Regions from separate parts of the Homo sapiens genome. Here region 2 is linked to region 1. The links are contacts of gene promoters, found by promoter capture Hi-C in human tissues and cell types (Jung and others, 2019). All regions are on one chromosome and are shown on one strand. Each heading gives the region's core, a stretch centred on a gene start or on the middle of the fragment in contact. The rest is flanking DNA. Distances are from core to core; before and after follow the strand shown.

Region 1 (6,244 bases), core at 2,795-5,294:
GGGATTACAGACGTGAGCCACCGCTCCCAGCCCCTTCTTTGTATTTTAAAATTTCTTTAGTAATGAACAAACATTAATAAGACAAGAAATAAAAAGCTGTTTTAAAATTTCTCTTAAGCAAAAGGCCAACAATCATTTAAAAAATGAGTGGGATAAGAACAGATTGTTCTCAGGAAAAAAAAGAAAAGAAAACGGCTCTTAAACATAGAAACAGATAACCAACTTTTCTTGTAATGATAGAAATGCAAACTAAGATTATAATGAATTACTATTTCTTACTTATCAGATTGGGAAAAATCCAAGTTTTACAGAATGTTCTCCTTGGAAACAGGCACCCTCATACATTGGTAATGGAAATGCAAAATATTTCTGGACCTTATGGAGGAGAATTTGGCAATAGCTAGCAAAGTTATATGTGCATTTACCCTTTGACCAAGCAATCCCATTTATAAGAATAGATCCCATAGATGCACTGGTAAAAATACCAACTGATGCATGCATAAGGTTGGTCATTGTAACTCTATTGTAATAACAAAAGTCTGGAAACAGGGCCAATGTCCATCAACAGGGAGTGGTTGAATAAGCCACCCAATGGAGGACTCTGAGGCTGTACAAAGGATGCAGGAAGATCTCAACAGACTACTGCGGAGAGATCTCTGTAGTAGATTGTTCCCAGAATAAAGCCAGAAGAATGTTCAGAACGGGCAAATCTATGGAGAAAGAAAGTAGATTTGTAGTTGCCTAGGGCTGTGTGTGGAGGGTTGGGGAGGGTAAACTGCAAGGGGGGGTGATAGCTAAAGCATATGGGCTTTCTTTTCTGGGGTGATGAAAATATTTAGTGGTGATAGTTATACAACTCTGAACGATACTGTACTAAAAACCATTGAATTATACACTTAAATGGGTGAATTTTAAGGGGCAGGGCAAAGTAAGAAGATGATATATAGTATGCTACTGCAGTAAAGGGAGAATATATGATTAAATTAAACAATATAAGGGTAAGCATCAACAACACAAATGTTATTTTGTCAGTCAGGATGCAGTGAAGGAAGCAGAATCATGTTGAGGTTATGGGTTTAGGGTACTGGTCCCCAACCTTTTGGCACTAGGGTCCAGTTTTGTGGCAGACAATTTTTTACAGGACTTGGGTGGTGGGGGGATGGTTTTGGGATAAAATTGTTCCCCTTCGGATGATCAGGCATTAGTTAGATTCTCATAAGAAGTGTGCAACCTAGGTTGGGCATGGTGGCTCACGCCTGTAATCCCAGTACTTTGGGAGGCCGAGGCAGGTGGATCACTTGAGGTCAGGAGTTTGAGACCAGCCTTACCAACATGGTGAAACCCCATCTCTACTAAAAAAATACAAAATTAGCCGGGCATGGTGGCGCAAACCTATAATCCCAGCTACATGGGAGGCTGAGGCAGGAGAATTGCTTGAACCCGGGAGGCAGAGATTGCAGTGAGCCATTGCACTCCAGCCTGGGCAACAAGAGCAAAACTCCATCTCAAAAAAAAAAAAAAGAAGTGTGCAACCTAGATTCCTCACATGCACAGTTCACAATAGGGTTCACCCTTCTATGAGAATCTAATGCCACCACTGATCTTTCAGGATGCGGAGCTCAGGTGGTAATGCTCGCTCTCCTGCTGCTCACCTCCTGCTGTGTGGCCCAGTTCCTAACAGGCCATAGACCAGTACTAGTCTGAAGCCTGGGGGTTGGAGACCCCTGGGATTAGGGATCTGTGATAGTAATTTGCCTTACACAGTTGCGGAAGGACCAGAAGGGGAGTTGGGGATCAGAGGAGTCCTTAGTCAGTCATCTGAGAAACCAAGTATGTCCAGCTGCTAAAATGGAACCACAAGGGAAAGCTCCTGGGGAGGTCTATGGGTGGTACTAATGCCCTGGGTCTGCAGCCAAGTCCGCGATGGCCTGGGGCCACTGTTGGTCAGCAGGCTCAGCAGCTGGGAAGAAAAGCTGGATGTGGAGTGAAGGAGAGTGACAGCAGGCTGGAAGCCAGTGGTGCCCTCTTCATCCATCACCACAGCTGACTATGACAACCTTCAGAGACTTAACTTTGAAACATGTAAATACTTTACATAATTGTAAAGCAAAATTAACATTTAAAAATATCAAAAAACAAAAGCAAAACAAAATAAATAAACCATGCATGTTGAGTTGGTGGCATAACCACATAAAGAACTATTCCAAGTGACTAAAACAGTAACGTGACACTATGCCCCTAGTGGGATGTACATGTGACAAAAGCTTTACAAAAAACATTTAAACTGTTTTCAGGAATAATATCTTTGGCTAGGCGTGGTGGCCAAGCACTTTGGGAGACCTAGGTGGGTAGATCACCTGAGGTCAGGAGTTCGAGGCCAGCCTGGCCAACATGGTGAAACCCCCGTCTCTACTAAAAATACAAAAATCAGCCGCGTGTGGTGGCACACACCTGTAGTCCCAGCTACTTGGGAGGTTTAGGCATGAGAATCGCTTGAACCTGGGAGGCAGAGGTTGCAGTGAGCTGAGATTACGCTACTGCACTCCAGCTTGGGCAACACAGTGAGACTCTGTCTTAAAAAAAAAACAAAAACAAAAAGGGGGGGGTGCGGCGCAGTGGCTCACACCTGTAATCCCAACACTTTGGGAGGCCAAGGTAGGTGGATCACCTGAGGTCAGGAGTTCAACACCAGCCTGACCAACATAGTGAAACCCCATCTCTACTAAAAATACAAAATTATCCAGGTGTGGGGGCGAGTGCCTGTAATCCTAGCTACATGGGAGGCTGAGGCAGGAGAACTGCTTGAACCCAGGAGGCAGAGGTTGCAGTGAGCCGAGATCATACCACTGTACTCCAGCCTGGGCGAAAGAGTGAGACTCTGTCTCAGAAAAAAAAAAATCATATCTTTGATTATTATGTTGGAATTGTTATTTTGAGACCATTTTGAGGGGTTGGCTCAGGGCTCATTAATTGTTAGCTGTTATCATTATGTTATTTTTCAAAGGCCATTCCAAATACCTCCTTCTTCAGGAAGCCTTCTTGAACTATATTCTAAGGACTAATGACTGAAAGATGCTCTTCCTCCTTTGATCCCCAAAGTAGTAGTAACTACACCTATCATGGCTTTGCTGGCTTCTTGCCTTGGGATAGAGATGCCTGAGACCCCATTATCCCTAAATTCAAAGAAGCTGTAAATGCCTTTAAGGCAAAAAGGACATGGACATCCCCCAAGGGTCTGAAGTGCAACCCATTCTGGTGTATTTAATGTGTATCTTTTTGTTTCTATGTGTCTTTGCAAGTCTGTGTTGTTTGATGTAAATGCATTTGTAATATTTTTATTGATATTGTTTCCTAGGTCTTATTTGGTTTGGTTATTTACTTTTTCTGCCTAGCACTAGGTGTTTAAATCCATATTGCCACGAATACAGCGGGTCCCTTGCTTTGAGTGCTGCACAGTTTATCCATCTGCTCTTACAAGAAAGGGCGCTTAGATTGTCTCCAACTCCCAGCAACCACAGCAACACAGCAACCAACATCCTCCTACATGTCCCTTTATGGGCCTGATAAATCTTTCTGAACACTGATAAATCCGACCATCTCTTCATATGCTTGCAGACCTGCTGAGGTTGTGGTCCCTTAAACGCCAGCTCACATCTTTGGGGTTTGACTTTCTGCGCCTGAGGCGGCGGGCCCAAGGCTCAGCCCTCCTCCCCGAGTCCCGAGAGGCGCGAGGAGGATGAGCCTGCCAGATGCCTTGTGCGCATCTATCTCCAGGGCCGGGGAGGCTGGGCGAACTCCCGGGGAGGAGACTGGGTCAGGGACACCTGCGGAACTCGGCGTGGCCCCGACCCGCCGGCCTCGGGCGCGGAGGGGTGGGCAGGTTAAGAGAGCAGGAGGAGGGACCTGCGTCCTGGTCCGGGACTGGGGTGGCCGGGGCAGCTGCGCTCCTAGCAGGCGGGGCGTGGAGTCTGGAGGAGCGACCGCCCCGTCCTCTCGGCTCCCCGGGCCCCGCCCCGGCGGACGCGCGCCTCGCGCCCGGGCACCAGCGCGCGCAGGGGCTGCGGAGCGGCAGGATGCAGGAGGAGCTGGCGTGGGAGACCGACGGCCGTGAGTCTGCCTGGAGGAGGGAGGGGGGCGGGCCGAGGCCGAGAGGACCCCCGCATCCGTTTGGGGAGTGCCAGGGGTGAGGTTGGCGCCCTCCGAACGGCCACCTCCGTGTGGGGCGTCTGTGTGGCTCCGAGCGGAATGGTTACCGGTCCGCGCACTGGGCCGAGGGGACCTTGCCAGTGCGTCTGGGACTCGGGGACCACACCCGCCAGGTGAGCGGGGAGCAGCGGCTGAGAGGTTAGCTACAAATAATAAAGGTAATAGCGATCCTTGACTGCGTGCTGTACTTTGTGTGCCAGGCCTTGACCCAGGAGAGGCACGTCATTTGATCTTCGCTGCGGCCATATGGGTAGGACATTATGTTATCTTCATTTCGCAGATGAGAAACTGAGGCACAGGGTGTTCAAATGAGTTGTTCAAGGTCACACAGCCATTGAGTGGTAGAAGTGCTGAAGGGCCCAGCTCACCCGGAATGCTGGGGCTGGATAGCGAGTGGAGACCGCATCAGATGGGGCACGCACTCAGAGGAGAGGAGCCTGACTGGCCACAGGTGGAATGAGGGCACCTCCGAACCTCCCTCAAGGAGTGCGCCCAGTGCCAGGGCCTCTAGGCCGGGCAGCAGCGTCTGTGTGGGCATCAGCTGGCCTGGGGCAGCTTTGGCTGCACCGTCTGGGAGAGGGGAGAGAAAGATTGTGTCGGTGTCTGCACTGTGAGTCCTTGATCCTGCAGCCCTGGCTGAATCCTGACAGCTGAATCCCGGGGCTTTCCCTCAAAAGCGCATAGTGCAGCTCACTGGATTCCTTTGAGACCTATAGTGTCCAAAATGCTGGCACACTGCATCTACTCAGCTGAGGGATGTGTTGGGGGTGGGAATGCTCAATCAAGATTAGGTACATGGTTCTGCCTGGGGCGGAGGATCACTTGAGTGGGCCTGCGAAGAATGTGTACCAATGGAGCATTGGGGTGTGTGGCAGAGAATTCTGGACAAAGACCCAGCATGGGCAAAGGCTCAGGTAGCTCAGTGGGTATTGGATGTGGCCAGAAAGAGGGTGCCGGATGGGAGGTGGATGGAAGAGATGAGACTGGACTTGATTTCATTCTAACTTAACCTTCTCTGGCCTGACCCTATGCAGTGTCTGCTGGCTTCCCATTGGAACTCCTGGCTGTTTGCCAATACAAACCAGGCCAATCCCCCTAAGCTGCACATAAGATAGAGGGTGCCAGACAGGAAGGGACCTATACAGATCTCTTTCTTCACCCTCCCCCAGTTTTACAATGGAAGAAACAGACCTACAAGGGGGATGTGACTAGCCCAGGATCCTGCTGCTGGAAAGTGGCAGGGAAGGTACTAGAACCCAGGCCTCTGTAAGCTCACATCTGAAGTGGCAGCTCTCTTTGGCTACCAGAATTTGACCCTTTGCCTTGGAGGAATAATAGTGATGATGATGGTGGTGGTGGTGGCGGTGTGGTCATTATGTGCCAGACACTGTGCCAGGGGGTTTTCATATCTCATTTCTAATCATGATATTAACCTTGTAGGGAAGCTCGCACTCCTGTTTTGCAGATGAGGAAACTGCCTAACACAGCTAGGAAGTGGTTAAGCCAGAGTTGAACCCAGGACTGTGTGATTGCCCCCCAGGGTAGCAACTCTGAGATCCACAGGTTGTATCCATGAGGCCCCAGAAAGCTCAAGATCCTCTTTCTCATCTGGAGAAGACTGTGTGGAATTTATCTAGAAAAACAAACTGCATGGCAGGCCTGTCTCTCACCTCAGTGCATCTTAGCCTTCCCTACCAAGACACTCGTCACCTGTCCCTGGATACACAAAGGGGCTGGGTTCAGACATTCATACTGGACCAAACATGCAGGCTATGGGGTCACTTGCCCTGCAGTGACTATGGAAAGGGCCAGCAAATATTTGTCTCTGTGCTAGTATGTGTGAGCACTTTGGGAGAGGGGACAGGCATCTATTCGTCTGGGGATTGTTGGTGTCACTCATACAAGCAGAGATTTTTTTGTTTCTGTTTTCTTTTTTTTTTTTTGAGATGGAGTCTCGCTCTGTCACTAGGCTGGAGTGCACTGGCATGATCTCGGCTCACTGCAACCTCCAGCTCCCAGGTTGAAGCAATTCTCCTGC
Region 2 (6,050 bases), core at 3,504-6,003, 190 kb before region 1:
AGTCCCAGCTACCCAGCTGCTTGGGGGGCTGAGGCAGGAGAATCGCTTGAACCTGGGGGGCGGAGGTTGCCGTGAGCTGAGATCACACCACTGCACTCCAGCCTGGGCGACAGAGCGAAACTCCGTCTCAAAAAAAAAAAAAAAAAAAAAATCCCAATTTCTACAGTCTCTTGAAAAATCAGACGATATGGCTAACATTGATGCATATGGCCCCAGGACCACAGCTGATGGGGCTGAATAATGACCACCCTTTAGAAAGACCTTGGACTGTCCATTTTGCCACTGTCCACACCACTCTGTATTGTCTCCAGCAGTGAGGCCGAGTATGAGTTGCTGTTGCTCATCACACTTGAATGGTTATTACACTGTTTTCTGTACCCTCGTCTCATTCAAAAGTGGGGATATGGCCAGGTGTGGTGGCTCACGCCTGTAATCCCAGCACTTCGGGAGGCCGAGGCAGGTGGATCACTTGAGCCCAGGAGTTTAAGACCAAACTGGGCAACATGGAGAAACCCCATCTCTACTAAAAAAAAAAAAAAAAAAAAGTGGGGACACGAAAGAAACTAAGAGGGCCACTGTTTGTAGCGAGCACATTTCTACCCCAGCCAGGCCTATCTATAAGCAAATAAAGATGGGATTTCATGTCCTCCCATCAGCTTTTCTGCACCCTCCCTTCTACCTTCCAGTGGCACAGTGCTTAATGACAGCTGCTGACAATACAGTGTCACAGGCCTTGCGCCAAAATTACCCCCAACTCCTTCCCTCACTCCCAAATCACAACTCTTATTATCTAAGTGAGCAACCCCAGTTGCAAAACACAAAGGAGTAATAAGTCCTGTAGAAATTCTCAGCTCCACCCCAGCCCCTGGTTGCCAATGACCCTGTGAAGAAGCTAAAACTCCTTAGCTCGGACATTCTGTCACAGAGAGACCTGCAGCATGTGCCAGATGAACTTGCATCAACTGAAAACCAAGGTCACCTCTGGAGACCAGAAATGGAAGTGACAGTCCCAGGCCTATTCATAAAGCTTCAGTTTTTTACAAGGAGATTGTAATCATGCAAAACTTGCGTAATTAAAATTAATAATAAACAGAAATGCCTCAGCCTAGTTCCTGTGAGTCTGACCCCAACTTACATTTCCAGGTTTTTTTTTTTTTTTTTTTTGAGACGGAGTCTCACTCTTGTCACCCAGGCTGCAAGCTCCGCCTCCCGAGTTCACACCATTCTCCTGCCTCAGCCTCCTGAGTAGCTGGGACTACAGGCACCTGCCACCACGCCCAGCTAATTTTTTTTTTTTTTTTTTTTTTTTGTATTTTTAGTAGAGACAGGGTTTCACTGTGTTAGGCAGGATGGTCTCGATCTCCTGACCTCGTGATCCACCTGCCTCGGCCTCCCAAAGTGCTGGGATTACAGGCGTGAGCCACCACGCCTGGCCTTTTTTTTTTTTTTTTTTAAGACATGGTCTCACTCCAGTGCCCAGGCTGGAGTGCAATAGCGTGATCTCAGCTCACTGCAACCTCCACCTCCTGGGCTCAGGTGATACACCCTGCCTTAGCCTCCTGAGTAGCTGGGACTACAGGTACATGCCACCATGCCCAGCTACTTTTTGTATTTTTTGTAGAGATAGGGTATCTCTCTGTTGCCCAGGATGGATACATTTCCAGTTTATCTCAGATTACTCCCTTCCATGAACAAGTCCACTCACAGAACCCTCTTTCTCCTACAAAGAACGTCTTTCTCCTCCTCCTTTGTCAAGCAACCTCTAGCTCATCTCTCAAGACTGTAGTCTTTCAATAATTTAGCTCATGCATACCCTAAACATTTTTAAAAATTATGTACCCCTTCAATAAAGCTTGTTTTAAAAGTGAAGTTTTTAGGCTGGGCATGGTGGCTCACGCCTGTAATCCCAGCACTTTGGGAGGCCGAGGTGGGTGGATCACCTGAGGTCAGGAGTTCAAGACCAGCCTGGACAACATGGTGAAACCCCGTCTCTACTATAAATACAAAAATTAGCCGGGCGTGGTGGCAGGTGCCTGTAATCCCAGCTACTCGGGAGGGTGAGGCCAAAGAATCGCTTGAACCCAGGAGGCGGAGGTTGCAGTGAGTAGGGATCACACCATTGCACTCCAACCTGGGAGACAAGAGCAAAACTCTGTCTCAAAAAAAAAAAAAAAGGGGAAATTTTAAAATTTGATTTAAAAAAAATTTTAACCATGTTTAAATAGTTGCAAAAGGCTGGGCACAGTGGGACATATCTGTAATCCAAGCACTTTGGGAGGCTATGGTGGGAGGATTGCTTGAGGCCAGGTGCTCAAGGTTACAGTGAATAATGATCATACCACTGCATTCCAGCCTGAGTGATAGACTGAGACCCTGTCTCTACAAAAAAATATAAAAACAGTTTCGAAGGATGTGATTTCTTTGCAATTTTTTTTTGTATTAGAAATATTGAAGCTGGACACAGTGACTCATGCCTGTAATCCCAGCACTATGGGAGGCCGAGGCAGTGGGCAGATTGCTTGAGGCCAGGAGTTTGAGTCCAGCCTGGCCAACAAAGCAAAACCCCATCTCTACTAAAAGTACAAAAATTAGCCGGGCATGGTGATGCGTACCTGTAATCCCAACAACTCAGGAGGCTGAGGCATTAGAATTGCTTGAACCTCGGAGGCAGAGATTGCAGTGAGTTGAGATCAACCCAGTGCACTCCAGCCTGGGTGACAGAGTGAGACTCTGTCTCAAAAAAAAGAAAGAAAAAGAGGCCAGGTGCAGTGGCTCACGCCTGTAATCCCAGCGCTTTGAGAGGCAGAGGCGGGCGGATCACTTGAGGTCAGGAGTTTGAGACCAGCCTGGCCAACATGGTGAAACCCTGTCTCTACTAAAAATACAAAAAATAGCCAGGCGTGGTGGCGTGTGCATGTAATCCCAGCTGCTTGGGAGGCTGAGGCAAGAGAATCGCTTGAACCCAGGTGTCGGAAGTTGCAGTGAGCCAAGATCATGCCACTGCACTCTAGCCTGGGCGACAGAGTGAGACTCCCTCTCAAAAAAAAAAAAAAAAGAAAGAAAGAAAAAAAGAAAAAGTAAGCTGTTCTTTAGCACAGGAAATTTTACATCACTCCTTTTTCTCCTTGAACTTGTATTTTCTTTTTACTTCTCTCACATAATGCTTTCCTAATACAATATGTACTTTATCCCTTTTTTTTTTTTTTTTTTTTTTTTGAGATGCAGTCTTGCTGTGTTGCCCAGCCCAGGCTGGAGTGCAATGGCACAATCTCAGCTTACAGCAATCTCCGCCTCCCGGGTTCAAGCGATTCTCCAGCCTCAGCCTCCCCAGTAGCTGGGATTATAGGTGCCTGCCACCACGCCCAGCTAATTTTTGAATTTTGAGCAGAGACAGGGTTTCACCATGTTGGCCAGGCAGATCTTGAACACCTGACCTCAGGTGATCCACCCACCTCAGCCTCCCAAAGTGCTGGGATTATAGGCGTGAGCCACTGCGCCCAGCATTTTTTTTTTCCCCCAAGATGGAGTTTCACTCTTGTTGCCCAGACTGGAGTGCAGTGGCGCGATATCAGCTCACCGCAAGCTCTGCCTCCCGGGTTCCAGCGATTCTCCTGCCTCAGCCTCCCGAGTAGCTGGGATTATAGGCATGCACCACCACGCCCAGCTAATTTTTGTATTATTAGTAGAGACAGGGTTTCTCCATGTTGGTCAGGCTAGTCTCAAACTCCTGACCTCAGGTGATCCACCCACCTCAGACTCCCAAAGTGCTAGCTAGGATTACAGGCGTGAGCAACTGCACCCGGCCAAGAATTCTTAAATATAAGACACAAAATTGTATAGGAAATACAACTTATATTGAGAGAGATGTTCTCATGCTAGAGTGAGACAGTGATAAGCATCAATGTTTTTGTTGGCTGGTTGGTTGTTTTTCTGAGACAGAGTCTTGCTCTGTTGCCTAGGCTGGAGTGCAGTGGTGCAAATGTGGTTCACTGCAGCCTCGACCTCTTGGGCTCAGGCAGTCTCCTGCCTCAGCCTCCCACGTACATGGGAATACAGGTGTGCATGACCATGCTCAACTAATTTTTTGTAGAGACAGGGACTCACTTTGTTGCCCAGGCTGGTCTCCTGGGCTCAAGCCTTGGCCTCTCAAAGTGCTGGGATTACAGGTATGAGCCATTATGCTTAGGCTGTGTTTTCGTTGTTATTGTTGTCTTTTTTTTTTTTTTTTTTTTTTGAGACAGTCTGACTGTGTTGCCCAGGCTGGAGTGCAGTAGCTATTCACAGGCATGATCGTAGTTCACTGCAGCCTCAAACTTCTAGGCTCAAGTGATCCTCCTGCCTCAGTCTCCTGAGTAGCTGGGACTACAGGTACATACCGCCACACCTGGCTAGGCTCAATTTTATTTCAACGTTTCAATCTCACACATGGTAATGCTGAGGTATCTTATTCACATAAGTACCTGGGAAAGGAAGAAGTTCTAGCAGAGTCACTCAATACCACCTAATCATCAAGCAGATGACAACAAAATTTGTTTCAGGTCCTTCCATTCAAAAGCAAAATATTGGGAAAGCTTTAGTTTGTAGAAAGGATCTATAATACAGTCATTTGAGTCATTCACTTTCTCAATATTGAAATCACTATTTCAAACTGTTTCTGTTTGAATTCCCAGAGATTTTTACACATCAAGACAATATACCAAATACCAGATCTCCCAACATACCAAACATCAGATCAACCAACAAACCAAATACCAGATCACCAACAAACCAAATACCAGATCTCCCAACATACCAAATACCAGATCACCAACATACCAAATACCAGATCACCAACATACCAAATACCAGATCTCCAACATACCAAATACCAGATCTCCAACATACCAAATACCAGATCTCCAACATACTAAATACCAGATCACCTAGCATACCAAATACCAGATCTCCCAACATACCAAATATCAGATCAACCAACAAACCAAATACCAGATCACCAACAAACCAAATACCAGATCTCCCAACATACCGAATACCAGATCACCAACATACCAAATACCAGATCTCCAACATACCAAATACCAGATCTCCAACATACCAAATACCAGATCACCTAACATACCAAATACCAGCTCTCCCAACATACCAAATACAAGATCTCCCAACATACCAAATACCAGATCTCCAACATACCAAATACCAGATCAACAACATACTAGATCTCCTAAGATCTAGGATGAAGGGCCAGGCATGATGGCTCATGCCTATAATCCTAGCACTTTGGGAGGCTGAGGTAGGTGGATCACTTAAGCCCAGGAGTTTGAGACCAACCGGAGCAACATGGCAAAACCCCATCTCTACTAAAAATACAAAAATTAGCCAGGCACGATGGCTCACACCTGTAATCCCACACTTTGGGAGGCTGAGGCGGGAGGATCACTTCAGGCAAGAGGTCTAAGACCAGCCTGGCCAACATAGCAAAACACCGTCTCTACTAAAAACACAAAAAATTAGGCCAGGTGCGGTGGCTCATGCCTGTAATCCCAGCACTTTGAGAGGTCGAGGCGGGCAGATCACAAGGTCAGGAGTTCCAGAACAGCCTGACCAACATGGTGAAACCCCGTCTCTACTAAAAACACAAAAATTATCTGGGCATGGTGGCTTGCACCTGTAGTCCCAGCTACTCAGGAGGCCGAGGCAGGAGAATCACTTGAACCCAGGAGGCGGAGGTTGCAGTGAGCCGAGATCGAGCCACTGCACTCCAGCCTGGGTGACAGAGCGAGACTATGTCTCAAAAAAAAAAAAAAAAAAAAAAATAGCCAGGTGTGGTGGTGCGCACCTGTAATCCCAACCACTGCACTCCAGCCTGGGCGACAGAGCAAGACTCCATCTCAAAAAAAAAAAAAAAAAAAATTAACCCGGTGTGGTGGCGTGCACCTTAATCCCAGCTACTCGGGAGAGTGAGGGAGAATCACTGGAACCCAGGAGGCAGAGGTTGCAGTGAGCCGAGATCGTGCCACTGCACTTCAGCCTGGGTGACAGAGGGTGACTCT

What was found. The method cuts DNA at HindIII sites, captures the fragments that hold promoters and counts their contacts. A contact is called where the count stands out against the background at its distance.
Region 2: a fragment that was not itself captured here is called in contact with the fragment with the promoter of ANKDD1A in region 1 in 1 of the 25 tissues and cell types used here (hippocampus).

Annotation. Positions count from the first base shown.
Region 1 is chr15:64,907,858-64,914,101 of GRCh38, forward strand. ANKDD1A (ankyrin repeat and death domain containing 1A) reads left to right here and starts at 4,045. Exons shown (of 15, transcript NM_182703.6): 1 at 4,045-4,107. The coding sequence starts at 4,074. RefSeq lists silencers at 3,273-3,567, 3,641-3,690, 3,891-4,070 and an enhancer at 4,257-4,800. The HindIII fragment of the contact is 17,737 bases long and covers 1-6,244 here.
Region 2 is chr15:64,719,474-64,725,523 of GRCh38, forward strand. It overlaps LOC124903507 (a long non-coding RNA gene), which reads left to right. Exons shown (of 3, transcript XR_007064679.1): 3 at 1-1,096. Among named protein-coding and RNA genes, the nearest start is that of OAZ2, 19 kb to the left of the region's middle. The HindIII fragment of the contact is 6,629 bases long and covers 1,440-6,050 here.